Regions from separate parts of the Homo sapiens genome. Here region 1 is linked to region 2. The links are contacts of gene promoters, found by promoter capture Hi-C in human tissues and cell types (Jung and others, 2019). All regions are on one chromosome and are shown on one strand. Each heading gives the region's core, a stretch centred on a gene start or on the middle of the fragment in contact. The rest is flanking DNA. Distances are from core to core; before and after follow the strand shown. Region 1 overlaps PREX1 (phosphatidylinositol-3,4,5-trisphosphate dependent Rac exchange factor 1). Region 2 holds the start of ZMYND8 (zinc finger MYND-type containing 8).

Region 1 (6,268 bases), core at 2,574-5,073, 1.4 Mb after region 2:
TGCAAATACGGAAACGCTGCTCTTGACAGCTCAGAGTCCAAGTGTTCCATTTCCTCCTGGAGGCCCGACATGGGGCTCTGATTGCTTTGCCAGGAAGAAACGGACAAACAGTTGTGCATACACAGATGTGGTGGGTACGGAACATGTGGCTGTGGGTTTGGGGGGAGAAGGGGACAGCTGCTGGCTGGAAACAGCCAGGGGAGGGGAGCTCACCCCCAGGAAAGGCTCAAGGATTGTGAGAGGTGGCAGCTGCTGTCCACAATACCCAGGTGACAGTGGCTCCACAGAGACCATCAGCTCCAAACCACTCATTTCACAGCCAGCAAGACTAAGACCCAGAAGAGGGAAGGAGCTGGCCCATGCAGACATATTCTCCAGTGGGGAGGAGAGAAGTGAGAATCAGGTCTCAGTTTCTCAACAGTCTCCCCAAATTATTTACCCATCCATACAGCTGTGGGGAGAGGGGGGTTAAAACAGAAATCAGACCACACTACTCCCGTGCTTAAAACCTGCAATGGCTTTCACTGACTCAGAATAAGATCTACAGTCCTCACCTCGGCACGCAAAGCCCTACAGGATCTGCCCTGCCCCCACTATGACACCCTCAAACTCTCTCTATCACTCACTCTGCTCTGGCCACGCCAGTCTCCCTTCTTCTCTCAAATGAGCTAAGCTTGCTCCCAGCTCAGGGCTTCTGCCCTTTCTCACCTTGGTCCAGACCACCCTCCCCAAGATCATCCCATTCCAACCCCTCAGAAAGGCCATCCCACCCTTGGGTTGCCAGATATAAAATAAACCCCAGGATGCCCAGGTGAATGCTCATTTCAGACACATATTTTTTTTAGTATAAGTATGTCTCAAATATTCCATAAGACATGTTTCCACTAAAAAATTATTTGATGTTTACCTGAAATTCCAATTTCCCTGGGTGTCCTTTGTTTTCATTTGCTAAATCTAGCAGCCCTGGCCCTGACCTCCCGATTGAAAGCAACCTCAGGCAGAGTCACTCTTTACCACATCTGCATTTTATGTTCTTCACAGTCTGCACTGGCATCTGAAATGACCTCATTTGTTAAATTACCCTCTGTTTCTCCCACCTACGAGCCGCGTGGCAGCACGGAGCAAGTCTGTCTTACTTAGTACAGCATCCCCAGGGTCTAGTGCAGAGCCTGGCACACAGGAGATGCTTACTATGTATTTCAGGAGACCTCATCACATAAGAGTAAAAAACACAGACTCTACAGCCTGACTGTGTCAGCTCAAATCCTGGCTCTGATGCTTCCTAGCTCTGTAAGCTTGCCCTATAACTTAATCTCTCTGGGCCTTGGTTTCCTCATCTGTAAAATGGGTACAATAATAGTAACCACCTTTAAAGAGTGTTGTGAAGTTTTAATGAATGCATATCTGTAAGGCACAGAGAACAGAACCCAGCACAAAGAAAATGTCCACTCGGTGCTAGTTTATGATAAACTCAGTAGTTAGTGGTTGGGTTTTGGGGAAAGGGGGTGAGGGACTCTTCCCCCATCTGATCAGTTAGGTGACACTAGCGGGCTGGACTGTGGGCCAGGGCCCCTTCCTCTCCTGGAGAGCCTGTCTGCAAGAGCTCTGTTCCCGATTAGCATCTCACCAGCCCAGATGCTGCCATGGCCATGGGAAAATGTTTCCAAGCAGGGAGTAAATGGAGTAAACAAGCCTGGGAAGGAGAGTGGACCCAGCACCTCTTTCCTTTGGGGCTGCAGTGGATGCCATGGTGCACTCCTCAAATGCCTGTCACAGAGACAGAGACACCCCTTACCCCAGGTGCTGGGAGTGCTGGCTGACAATGACCCTCAGCTAAGGCCCTCTCCTAGAGCTGCCTTCAGCCTAAGAGGGCCACCTGTCTGAGGCGGTACACCCACTCCTGAGGACAGCCCACTGGGCAACAAGGGTGCAAAGGCCTTGCCCACTTGCTGCAATTGTGCATAATCTGAAGAGCTATCCTAGTTCCAGAGTTCCTTCCAGATGGGACTATCAGTGGCTGGGGTGGAGCCTCTGCAACCTCTCCTTTAGCTGCTTCCAAGGGCCCACCTGTGTGCAAATCGCCAGCTTCCAGAAACCCAACCTACAGAGGTGTGGCCTTTAAAACTCCTGAGACAGACTGACTCAACCTATCCTCCGTGAGCAGGCAGGAAGAGGCGTGATAATTTTAATTTTTAATTAAAAAGATGATTTTAAATTAAAAAACACTGTATCACACACTGAGAACGCTGGCTCCTTTTTCAATAGGTCCAGTTAGCTCAAGGAGGGTCTTAGCTGGTGTGATGTAAGCAGCCTCAGGCTGAAAGGCTCAAGTAGTTAAGAGTTTCTAGATAGAATGCGGTAATACCGTTTGGTTTCTACTGCATTTATTTTGACAATTACCTTCTATTTATAGCACTCATTTTCTATTTTCAATGATGATGCAAATTTCTCTTTTTAAATAAGTTCACTGAAGTTTTGTTAAGTGAATCAATTTTTTTTTTTTTTGAGACGGAGTCTCACACTGTTGCAGGGGCTGGTGTGCAGTGGCACAATCTCGACTCACTGCAACCTCTGCCTCCCGGGTTCAAACGATAAGTGAATCAATTTTTTAAAGCATTAAACAAATAATAATACAAAGAATACTCAGATATAGCAAAAATTACAAACTTAGCGTGTGAGCTGAACTGAAGAACACTGGCTTAGCCCTTAGGATGGCCTAAAGCCCACTTCTGCGGCTGGCACAGTCGTGACCTTGAGCTTAACCTTTCTCTCAGTTTGCTTGCATGTCCAGAGGGCAAGTGAGCTTGGGGCTCGATTTTTTTTTTATTTTATTTTTTGTTTTGTTTTGTTTGTTTTCAGACAATGTCTCACCCTGTCACCCAGGCTGGAGTGCAGCGGCATGATCTCAACTCACTGCAGCCTCAACCTCTTGGGCTCAAGCAATCCTCCCACCTCAGCCTCTCAAGTACCTAGAACTACAGGTGCACATTACCATGCCCGGCTAAGGGGCTGAACTATTTCTGATGCAGAGACAGAGCAGTGAACATGACAGAGTCCCTGTCCTCATGTTGTTTATATTCTAGGGAGAGACAGACAATAAGCAAAAAGGGGCAAAAGATCCGATGTGTCAAAGGGTGATGCGGACTGTTCTGTTGAGAATGACAGAGTAGGGGAGGGGCGCGGAAGGGCAGGAGTGCAGCAACTTAAACAGGAGGGCATGGAGGCCTTTGCGGAGAAGATGGCATTTCCAAAAAGCTTTCAAGGCAAGAAGGGAGAGAGCCGCAGGGATGTCTGAGGGAACTGGTCCAGCAGAGGAAGCGGCCTGGGGTGAGAATGGGCTTGCCATGTTCTGGAACAGCGAGGAGATCCGTGTGGCTAGAGCCAGGGGAGCAAGTTCCGAGGAATGAACAGGGCCTGGCGGGCTGTGGGGATTTTATTCCAATGAGGCAGGAACCTTTGGAGGGTGCTGGGAGAGGGGTTGAAGAGATCTGATTGATGTTTCCAGCAGGTCTCTCTGTTGGCTCAGGGGAGAACCAATCTCCAAAATACTTCATCTCTGTCAAAGCCTCCGACATTCATCCTTGTGCCCGGGCATCACAGCAGCTTTGTGAGGCTGGAAGGACGGGAGCCCTGCTGAGGTGCAGGGGGGCTCATGATAGATCGCCTGGAATGGGGCTCAGTGATCCCAGGTCTGGGCACCCTGCACAAAGTCACACTCCAGAGAAGCCTGGGAGGTGCCAGAAAGCGCTGGATCACGTGAACAGATGCGCACATTACCCAAGTGAGAAACAATTCCTGAGCACTTATTATGTGCCAGGTTCTACCAACGTCATTCATTCTCTCAACCACCCTAGAAGGTGAGTTTTGTGATACCCACTTTACAGATGAGAAAACTGAGGCACAGAGAGGTAAGGTCATTCTCCCAGGATCCCAGAGCAAGGAAGTAGCAGAGCTAGGATGCAAAGTCGAGCAGCTGGGCTCTAAAATGCTTGATCTCCCAGGCCCAGGGAGGATGCCAGGAAGGCCCCAGCACAGAACAACTTCCCACAAAGGCCTAAACATCCACCCTCCACACGTCATGACTCTGATGGTAAGTGCAGCCTTCACCAGGTGCCTAGTTTGATGAGGCTACATGAGGAGGGTCCCAGGTAGCAGAAGAGAGGACACGGAAAAGAGGTTGCTTCATGCACACTGAACTCCCCGTCCCCAGCCCCCCAGCCCTCCGCTGCATCTCTGAGCAAGTCAGGAATCCTGCAGAAAGAGAGAGGTGAGAATAGCCCCGCTGTGTCCTCAGGGTCCAGGGCTCCTCACTGACAAGCGAGTTAAACCCACTTCCCCACAGCCTCTGGGGCTCAGACAGAGAAGCCAAAGGAATGAGGGGGGCCAGGGCTTTTGGCAAACTGGACAGTGCACCTTGAGGACCCTTTCTCCCACTTTTGCTAAGTATAGGCAATCCTAAGCAAGCTCGGATCATGACATCACAGCCAACCCCAAGCCCACCCCCTCCAGGAAGCAGGCCGGAGTAACACTCACAGCTGACACGCGGCATTAGCTTGGTGCTGAGCCAGGTCATTCATCCTCATGACAGCCCCCTGCAGCAGGAATTGTCGTTACCCCCACTTTACAGAGTTGGAGACTGAGGCCCTGAGAGGTGAAAGGACTTGCCCAAGGTCACTGGGCTGGCGAGCAGTAGAACAGGGATTTGAACGTTGGCTGTTGGCTCCAGAGAAAAAGCACTTCCTGTCTCCTCTGAACCCAAAGGAAAGACTGTCCCTCCCATCCTTTTCATTTTCCTATTCAAACACCTTTACTGCACACTGTGGCCACTTGCCCCTTCTCACCATCTCCACTGCTACCATGCTGGTCCGAGGCACCGTCATCTCACTTGGTGGGGTAACCTCTTAGATGTCTCCCGGCTTCCAGTTCTCCCTCCACAGCTACTCCCCCTCACAGCAGCCAAAGGGCCTGTGGACCACTTCCCTCCTCTGCTCAATGCCCTCCGCTAGCACCCAGCCCACCTGCGCCCCATTGTGCTCTTATTTGTCCAATTCCAAAGATGGAGGAGCGTCCGCTATGTGAATAGGAAGATAACGTCGACATTTATTGAGCACTTACTGTGCCAGGAGCTGCACTGAGCAGGCTCCTTGTATTATCTTGCTTAATCCTCACAATGTCCTGGATTTATCCCGTTTATGGGTAAAAGGACAATGAGGCACAGACAAGATCAGTCAACTTGCTGAGAGGACCACAGTTCATGAGTGGCTCAGCAGCCTGGCCAGAAGCTCTCCTTGCCCTCACTTTCACGTAGAGAGTGGCTGGCCCTTGGCTGAATGACTGCATCTTGGGGTAGTCTGCACGCCTGATCGCACATGAGACTTGCCCCCCATTGCCCTCTGAGGGCAAAGTCACACAGCTCCATCATCTTAGGCTCTAGCCACTCAGATGTGATCCCTTGGAGAAGTGAGTTAGTGATGATGATGATGATGATGATGATGATGATGATGATGATGATGAGTTAACAGTGGCCGAGTGCTGATACACCAAAGTTTCTCCACCTTGGCACCACTGACATTTGAGGTCAGATGATTCTCTGTTGTCGGGGCTGTCATGTGCATTATAGGATGTTTGGTGGCATCCCTGGCCTCTACTTACTAGAAACCAGTAGCACTCTAGAGCTAGGACAACCAAAAATGTGTCTGGACATTGCCCATTGTCCCCTGGGGGCCAGAATCACCCCAGCTGAGAAGCTCTGCTCTAGACTCTCTACCCGATTGCTTTACCTCTGAGTCTGGCCATCAACCTTAGGAGGTATACGGAATTGTCCCTACTTTGCAATTACAGGAGGAAATAGAGGCTCAGAGAGGCAAAGGAGTTTGGCTCACATCTCGTGCCCGTGAGGCTAGCTTGGGTTCTTCTGTCTGTGAGGGGGGTCCCAGGTAGTACAGAAAAAGAGGGTATGGAAAAGCAGTTGCCTTCCTTCTTCCAGCCTACCACCCACAATTCCAAATGCGTTAGTAATCTTGCAGGAAGAGAGAGGCTATTGCAACAAGCGTCAGCCTCTCTGACCAACAGCCCAACGGGGCACCCCAGGATCAGACACCCTTACTGTCCAGTGGGTGCCTGAGCCGGGACTCAAACCCAGGTCTGTCTGATGCCAAGTCCATCTCTTCTTGGCCACTAGCTACCTCTGATGGTCACTGTGGCAGAGGGGCCCCGCCAGGCCAGGAGGTCGCAGGACTCCAGGACACATGCATTCAGTGAGGGCCCA
Region 2 (6,453 bases), core at 1,819-4,318:
AGGAGAGGAATCAAAAGCTTCAGTGTGTCTGTGTTTGCTCCTTGCAGCTGTGTATCCTCTTTGGGGACTGAGGAGGCAGAAGGAAAAAGGAAAACAGCCCAACATTCTGTTCCTCCTTCTGCAATTTACAAACGTGGCAGAGAGAACATTCTACCTTGATGAGAAAAAGAAGGGGGGTTGGGGGGAAGCAGGGAAGGGAGATGACCTAGGAATGGAAGGTAGGAGACGCTTCTGCTTGGCAGATCTGCTTTTCCTAAAAGGAACAAAGATGGTAGAAATTTCCAGAAGGCCCGTTCTTAGTTCGGCCACTGCAATTGTCAATCTTTAACCTTTCCTCCAAGTCTATTGGTTTAAAAGCTAGAGTAGAAGAACCCCATTGGGCTGCTCTGGGAGCCAGTACTGCCGTCCCTACCTAGTCCTGCTGCAATGCAGACATTTATTTTTTTCCCCCTTTCCTGAAACTGGAAAATAATGCTACTTTGAAAGCAATTAACTTTTTACAGACTCATGCTTGGTAGGGGTCACAGTACCAGAGGAAAAGTGGCTAGCTTGGTCCAGGGTTGGGAACTTGCTGGGGGCTGTACATTTGAAAACAGATCTTGGCTCTCCAAACCTGTGGGAGCCATTTTAATGCAAGCTTTTAGAGGACAAATGCCTTGCCCTTAAGTTCCCTTCCAGCCCAACAAACACAGTATTATGCAAACGTTGAAGGCACCAAACCAGGAGTCTTATGATTAGATATTGCTTCTAGGGAGGCCACAAGAACCTCGATATGTAATTTCCATTTACAGCAAGGAGATAAGAACAAAGAAAATAGCTGAGTGTCTGAACTTACTTGTTTGGGGCAGTGGCACTGTTCAGTTTTAAGTATATAACATCATTAACTGCCTGCAGTTTTACTCTAAGAAGCTAAGCTGGCCTGCCTTGCACAGACTTTTCTCAACTTAGAATGTGGTACGTTTCTGCTGATTAAATGAGCCTTTTTCCAATTCGGTGTCAGAAAGTGGGCTACTGGACACTCATTTGAAAGAAAAAAGATTACTGACTCCATAAAGTTGACATAACACAGCAATTGAATATATTTCCTGCATTTACGGTCATGTCGGATTGGTCTCCAAGCTGAAAATTTATGTACTGAACTTCTAGGGAAATTCTGAAGGTACTGCTAAACAAGACTCTACTTTTCCCACTTAACTTCTAGCTGCAGCCTTAAGTGGTCAAGGGAAATGTAAAAAGTGAGAAATCTTATGTGGGGCCAGCATGCATACAGATGTGTGGAGGAGACCTGAAAAAAGGCCAAAATGTGTTGGTCAGTGAGTCCTGAATCAAACCCAGTCTGGTGGTAGATGAGATTTTGCACTATACATAAGTCCTAAAACATGAGCACACTGACACCACCCCCCCAACACACACATACCACCACCACCACCAGCTTCTACACCACCAATGTTTTTAGGGCTCTGCACCTCTAAGAACAAGCAGTTTCATGACATTTCACAAGCACATCACCTACTCACAGTTTGAATATCCAAACAAACCCCATTAAAGGTCTAGAGTCAAGTCACAATGAACTGAACATTTCTCCCCTGACTCAGGGTAAACAGGAAGTATAATCTTCAATCCTAGCTGCAGGTTATCAGGAAAAACAGTGGATTCAAACAGTCACCTAAAATCAAGACACTCTTTAAAAAGCCCTTATTTTGTTCCTGCTAATGAAGCCCCCAACTCCTGTAGCCAAGACCCACTATTACAAACAGACCCCAAATGTTCGCAAAACTCTTCAAACATGGTCACAGAGGAAATGGATTGCTTTACTTACCCAACAAATGTTCAAGCAACCGTCTCATTTTTCCACAGTTAGGAAGAGAGAACAGGCTGGCAGATTTGGGACTTGATCAAAAAGGAAATTTTTTTAAACAGTTACATGGTATTATTAAAAACACACACAACAACAACAACACAACCCAACAACTGAATATGGAATGCTGTCATGAGCCACAGACATGATTTTATTTCCTCTACACTCCATGACACAGGAGAAGAGAGGAGGATACAATGTATAAAAGGGACAGGAAAATGAAAACAAGGATAAAAGGTAACATTAGTTCCTTGAAAATCATGCAAGAGTAGAAAGCTAAGGGATTCAGAATCCTTGCAGATTTTTTTTTTTTTTTTTTTTTGCAGGATGTTGTCCAAGATCTCTCCCCCCACCCCCCAGTCCCCATCCCTACTCCAAAAAACTTCCTCCAAAGCCTAGAAAACACTTTCAGAAACATTTGCTGGCTGTAGGCTGGCTTGCAGAACACTCTGTAGCAACCTAAGTCAGGAAAACAGGCTGAACAATGTAGTTTCAAGTGCAGAAGCTCTGTAGAATAAGAGAAGACCGTGTACAGACACCACCACCCACCTAGGCCCCAGGAGCTAGACTCTCCTTAGCACTGCTCTGCTGAGGGCACAATTCTTTTGCAAACACGCTCCTCTCTTGTCAAAACTTATCCAGCCTTCCCAGAACCTCTTTGGAGAGGCAAACTTGCCTGCTCTGCTGTCTGCCATGAGCTCTCCTTGGAGAGGAGCCTGTTTGCTTACCTTCCATTTTCTTCCCCCAGCAGGGCATGTGGCAAAAGAGAAGACAATAGTGCAGGGGTGGGAGGGGGGGAACTGCTCAGAGAGAGAGAGAGGGGAAGAGAGAGGGAAGAGGGAAAGAAAAAAAAAAAAAGAAGGAAAAAAAAAAGCTTCTTTTTTGGCATACCAGGATCTAGCTTCAAACTCTTCCAGAAACACCATGCCCTGGTGGAAGGAAAGGTGTGCCAGGCCCTTGCCAGTTTGCAAAATCAAGCTATGGCTAATGGCTACTGAGCCATGTGACCCAAGAAAGCAAAAAAATTCTCTCTAAACAGTTCCAAGTTAACATAAGTGCTCTGGGGGTGAGTGTGGCACGGCCAGCCACAGAGAAATCACACTGCTCGCCCACAATTCGGATGTCTCAGAGGGAGGGGGAAAAAAGATGGTTAAAAAGTCGAGCTTACCTCTGTGGATGCATTGTTAACACTGTGTAATGTCAATACTTATAAAACATGGAGGACAGGCTCCTAGTTCTCACAGAAAAAGGGTTTGGCACTTCGGCTGATGATCTGGCCGCCTAATAAAAGCTCATCCCCGATTGGCTGCCCCGGCAAATCGGAGTGTAAAGCCGCCCCGGATTGGCTGAAACACTTCCTGAGCGATTATCTTTGTGAGGCTCGGGTGAGCAAGAGCCATCCTGTGCATAGAAAAAGACAGGCTAAGCTAGGCCTTTTGCAGCAAGAAAAACTTGGGAAAGGGGCCCCCACACGCACTTCTCCTGCACCCTGGCTAGATTTCCCGGCACGGGCCAGCCAGGGCAGCCAGCCTGACCTGCTCCAGGAAAGCCTGAGGCCCGGAGGTCCCTGGGAAGGGAGTTTCTTGGAGTGGGCTGGAACGGCTCACCCTCACCTGCCCCCAGAGAAACGGCCCTTGTCCAGGGAGGAAGGCCAGCCTTTTTCTAGAACAGTCCAGCAGGGTGGCTCTCCAAGGGGAAGGGGAAGCTGGGGAGTGGGGAGTCCCGGGGAAACAGCCAAGGGGCCAGAAAAAGGGGCTTGAGGCAGGCCTCTGAGAAGCTGGGGGAAGCAGGCAGCCCGGGGGAGCCCCGAAAAATCAGCAGAGAGCAGCCCTGGCTTCTCAGAGGAGCGAGGAGTAGCTGCTGAGGGGAGGAGGGGAGCAGAGTGGTCAAGTTTGCATAGTCATTGTCCCCATGCCTCCTTGCAAGGCAGGCCAGGGAGCCGTGGGCCTCTCGCGCCCTGCTTAGCCAGTCCTGCAGGCAAAATCAACGTGGGTTCCTGTCGCCCTGCCACGATGCCAAGGGGGACCCCTCTCGGTCCTTACCCTAAGAAAAACCCAAAGCCCTCCTCGCAGGCCACATGCCTGGATCTACAAACTTCCCTTCCCTCCCGGCCCCTCCCCCGCGGCCGAGACCTGCTAAACCTGTCAGTTAAACACAAATCTGACTTCCGTATTAGCCTGCGATGCCTTCGGCTTCCTGCCTGTTAACCCTCTCTCGGACTCGGGGCCTGGCTGGGAAAAACTAGGCCTTGAGATCGCAGCGAAGGCCTGTGGAAAAATACCAGCTGCAGCTCTCCCGGCAGATGCAGAAAGAGAGAGAGAGAGCCGCTGTCTCTCAGCCTTTGCTTCCCAGGGAGGCGTGTACCTTGTGAATCCAGGGCACAGGCAGTGCCTCTCGGGCTGAGAAGCCATTTCAATCCAGAGGGAGACAGAAAGATGGCACGCTCAGCCCGGAAACAAGAGCCCCCATTATGCGTCAGGCCTACCCCCGTAGGTCAGCCCTTCCTGCCACAATCATCCCTGTATGTGTGTGCCTGGGGGAGTTGGGCCCTCCTCGGTGGGCAGACAAATCCCCTGGGCTTCCTAAGGATTCTTGCTTCCATTTATTTGCACAGAGAACGGCTTCTTTTCGTCCCCCAAGGCAGATGGAGCAGCGATTTCACACACAGCCCTCCATTTGGCAGCCCCCCCACCCCCCCATCTCTGGCACCGCTCCCCAGTAAAATATTAACTGGTTGTTCAGAGCTGCTTACAATTCTACCCACTTCAATTGCGTTAGGAGGTCTTTGCTGGTCTCCTCCCTAAAGCTGCCTTCGCAGTTGGTCTGTACCCAGAGATAGAAAAGGACCGTAAAATGTCCCCAGCTTTCTCGCTCTCTTTCCTTCTTCGGCATTTTAAATGACAAGGTGCTTAATTAACAGGATTTTTTAAAACAGCAACCTGGAACCACAGAAGCTAAATAAACACCATTCTTTAGAGGCTGGAGAAAGCGTCCAGAGTTAACGCAGCCATATGCCAGGAGGCATAACTCCGGAGCAATAAAGTCTCCCCTCTCCTCCTAAAATTAGGACTTGTGGGCTTTCTTGTCCCACACGGTTCCCACAAAGAAAACGAAGAGCTGATGGCTTGCTTTCCCTGCCCCCCCCCAACCCCCACATGGACAACAGATGCCCACTGCTTGTACATAAATTCTTCCTGGCCGGGAATCTCATATCAAACAGGCTCAGGAACGAGCTGGGAATCGAAACTCACTGTACGGCAGGGCAGGACCCAGGCTTTATAAAAACGGACAGGATGTTGCTGTTGTTACTGTTTTAGGCTGCTGAGGCCAAGCTGCAGGGAGGGACAGCTCCATGGCCACCCAACCTGACAAAGCTCCAGGGCTCAGGACAGCAGGCCTGGGCCTCACCAAAAGGGAGGGGCCTGCTCTTCCTGGAGGTAGAAAGCTGCATGGGGAGACTAAATGGGAGGAGGCGAGAGGTGGAGGCCACAGTGAAGCAGTGCGTGCTCACCCTCCTAGCTGTGTGGGCAGCGGCCCTCCACCGCCATCCCATATGGAATGCTGTTTGTTTCTGCGGGTGCTGCTTTGAGGGGAACAAACAGGACTGTGGGGTTGGTGGCAGATCTCCCATGCAGCTAAGTCCACGAACCAATGAGGAAATAAAATATGCCGCTGGTGTGCGTGGTGGATTTTAACCTGGGATTAAAGCTTGTTGCATAAGCAGCTACAGCATCCTCCCCGCCTCCCTCCCTCTCTCTGATCACTTGATCACTTGAAATGTTTTCTGGGGCAAAGAGCAGGAAGCTGCTGGCTTATTCTGGCAGCTCTGCTCTGTTTGAGGAATGCTGTTGGCATTCGGGTAGGTCTGAGGTTATCTGGAAAACAGCAATTCGGCTGGGGACAGACACAAAAGTATGGTGGCAGATGGAATCCTGGGAGGAACACAGATTGAAAAGAAAGCCTGGGGCAGGCCTACGAAGGGCTGGTCCTGGGCTTCATGGAATGTGGCTGATAAGCAGGAAATAAAACCAAATGTTGCAGGTCTCAATCTAGAAATCCATTCAGCAGCTCCTCTTAAAGCCCCACTGCAGTGAGTATCCCAGCAGTTACTTCTAAATTAGTGCTTTACATAGACTGATTCCTGAAGTAGGTGGCATTGTTAGAAACCTGGAACTAAGCCCAGAGAGGTGAAGTGAGCTGCCCAAGGTCACACAGCTGGGAAGTGCCAGAGATCAGATGTCCACCCCGTTAGCACTTCACATCCCTAAACTCTGTACCTTCTCCTGGCTCTAAAGAAAGAAGCAAAAGCAAAGCCGAACCAAGCACAGCAGAAACAATGAGGCTGAAACCTACGAACAGCAACTGCATAATCTGTGTTTTCTTTTAGGAGGTAGACCAGTTTTTTGCTTTTTTGTTTTTTGATACAGTGTCTCGCTCTGTCGCCCAGGCTTGAGTGCAGTGGCATCATCACAACTCAATGCTGCAACCTGAAGACCCACCCTTTTGAGGTGGGTTTTCAGTATTGAATGATGGCGCTGAAGGAAACTTTTAGATTAGACTCATTCAAATGCCCCTCATTACAGATTGAGGCCCAG

What was found. The method cuts DNA at HindIII sites, captures the fragments that hold promoters and counts their contacts. A contact is called where the count stands out against the background at its distance.
Region 1: a contact is called between a fragment that was not itself captured here and the fragment with the promoter of ZMYND8 in region 2, in 1 of the 25 tissues and cell types used here (spleen).

What each region holds. Positions count from the first base shown.
Region 1 is chr20:48,738,522-48,744,789 of GRCh38, forward strand. The region is part of intron 3 of PREX1 (phosphatidylinositol-3,4,5-trisphosphate dependent Rac exchange factor 1); the gene reads right to left. Among named protein-coding and RNA genes, the nearest start is that of PREX1, 86 kb to the right of the region's middle. RefSeq lists an enhancer at 2,071-2,180. The HindIII fragment of the contact is 5,679 bases long and covers 985-6,268 here.
Region 2 is chr20:47,353,631-47,360,083 of GRCh38, forward strand. It overlaps ZMYND8 (zinc finger MYND-type containing 8), which reads right to left and starts at 3,069. Exons shown (of 23, transcript NM_001281775.3): 1 at 3,027-3,069. The coding sequence starts at 3,040. LOC101927377 (a long non-coding RNA gene) reads left to right here. Exons shown (of 2, transcript NR_134501.1): 2 at 1-1,003. RefSeq lists enhancers at 2,880-3,049, 2,893-3,500, 3,035-3,329, 4,080-4,429, 4,109-4,714 and 5 more and a cis regulatory region at 5,176-5,389. The HindIII fragment of the contact is 5,862 bases long and covers 1,685-6,453 here.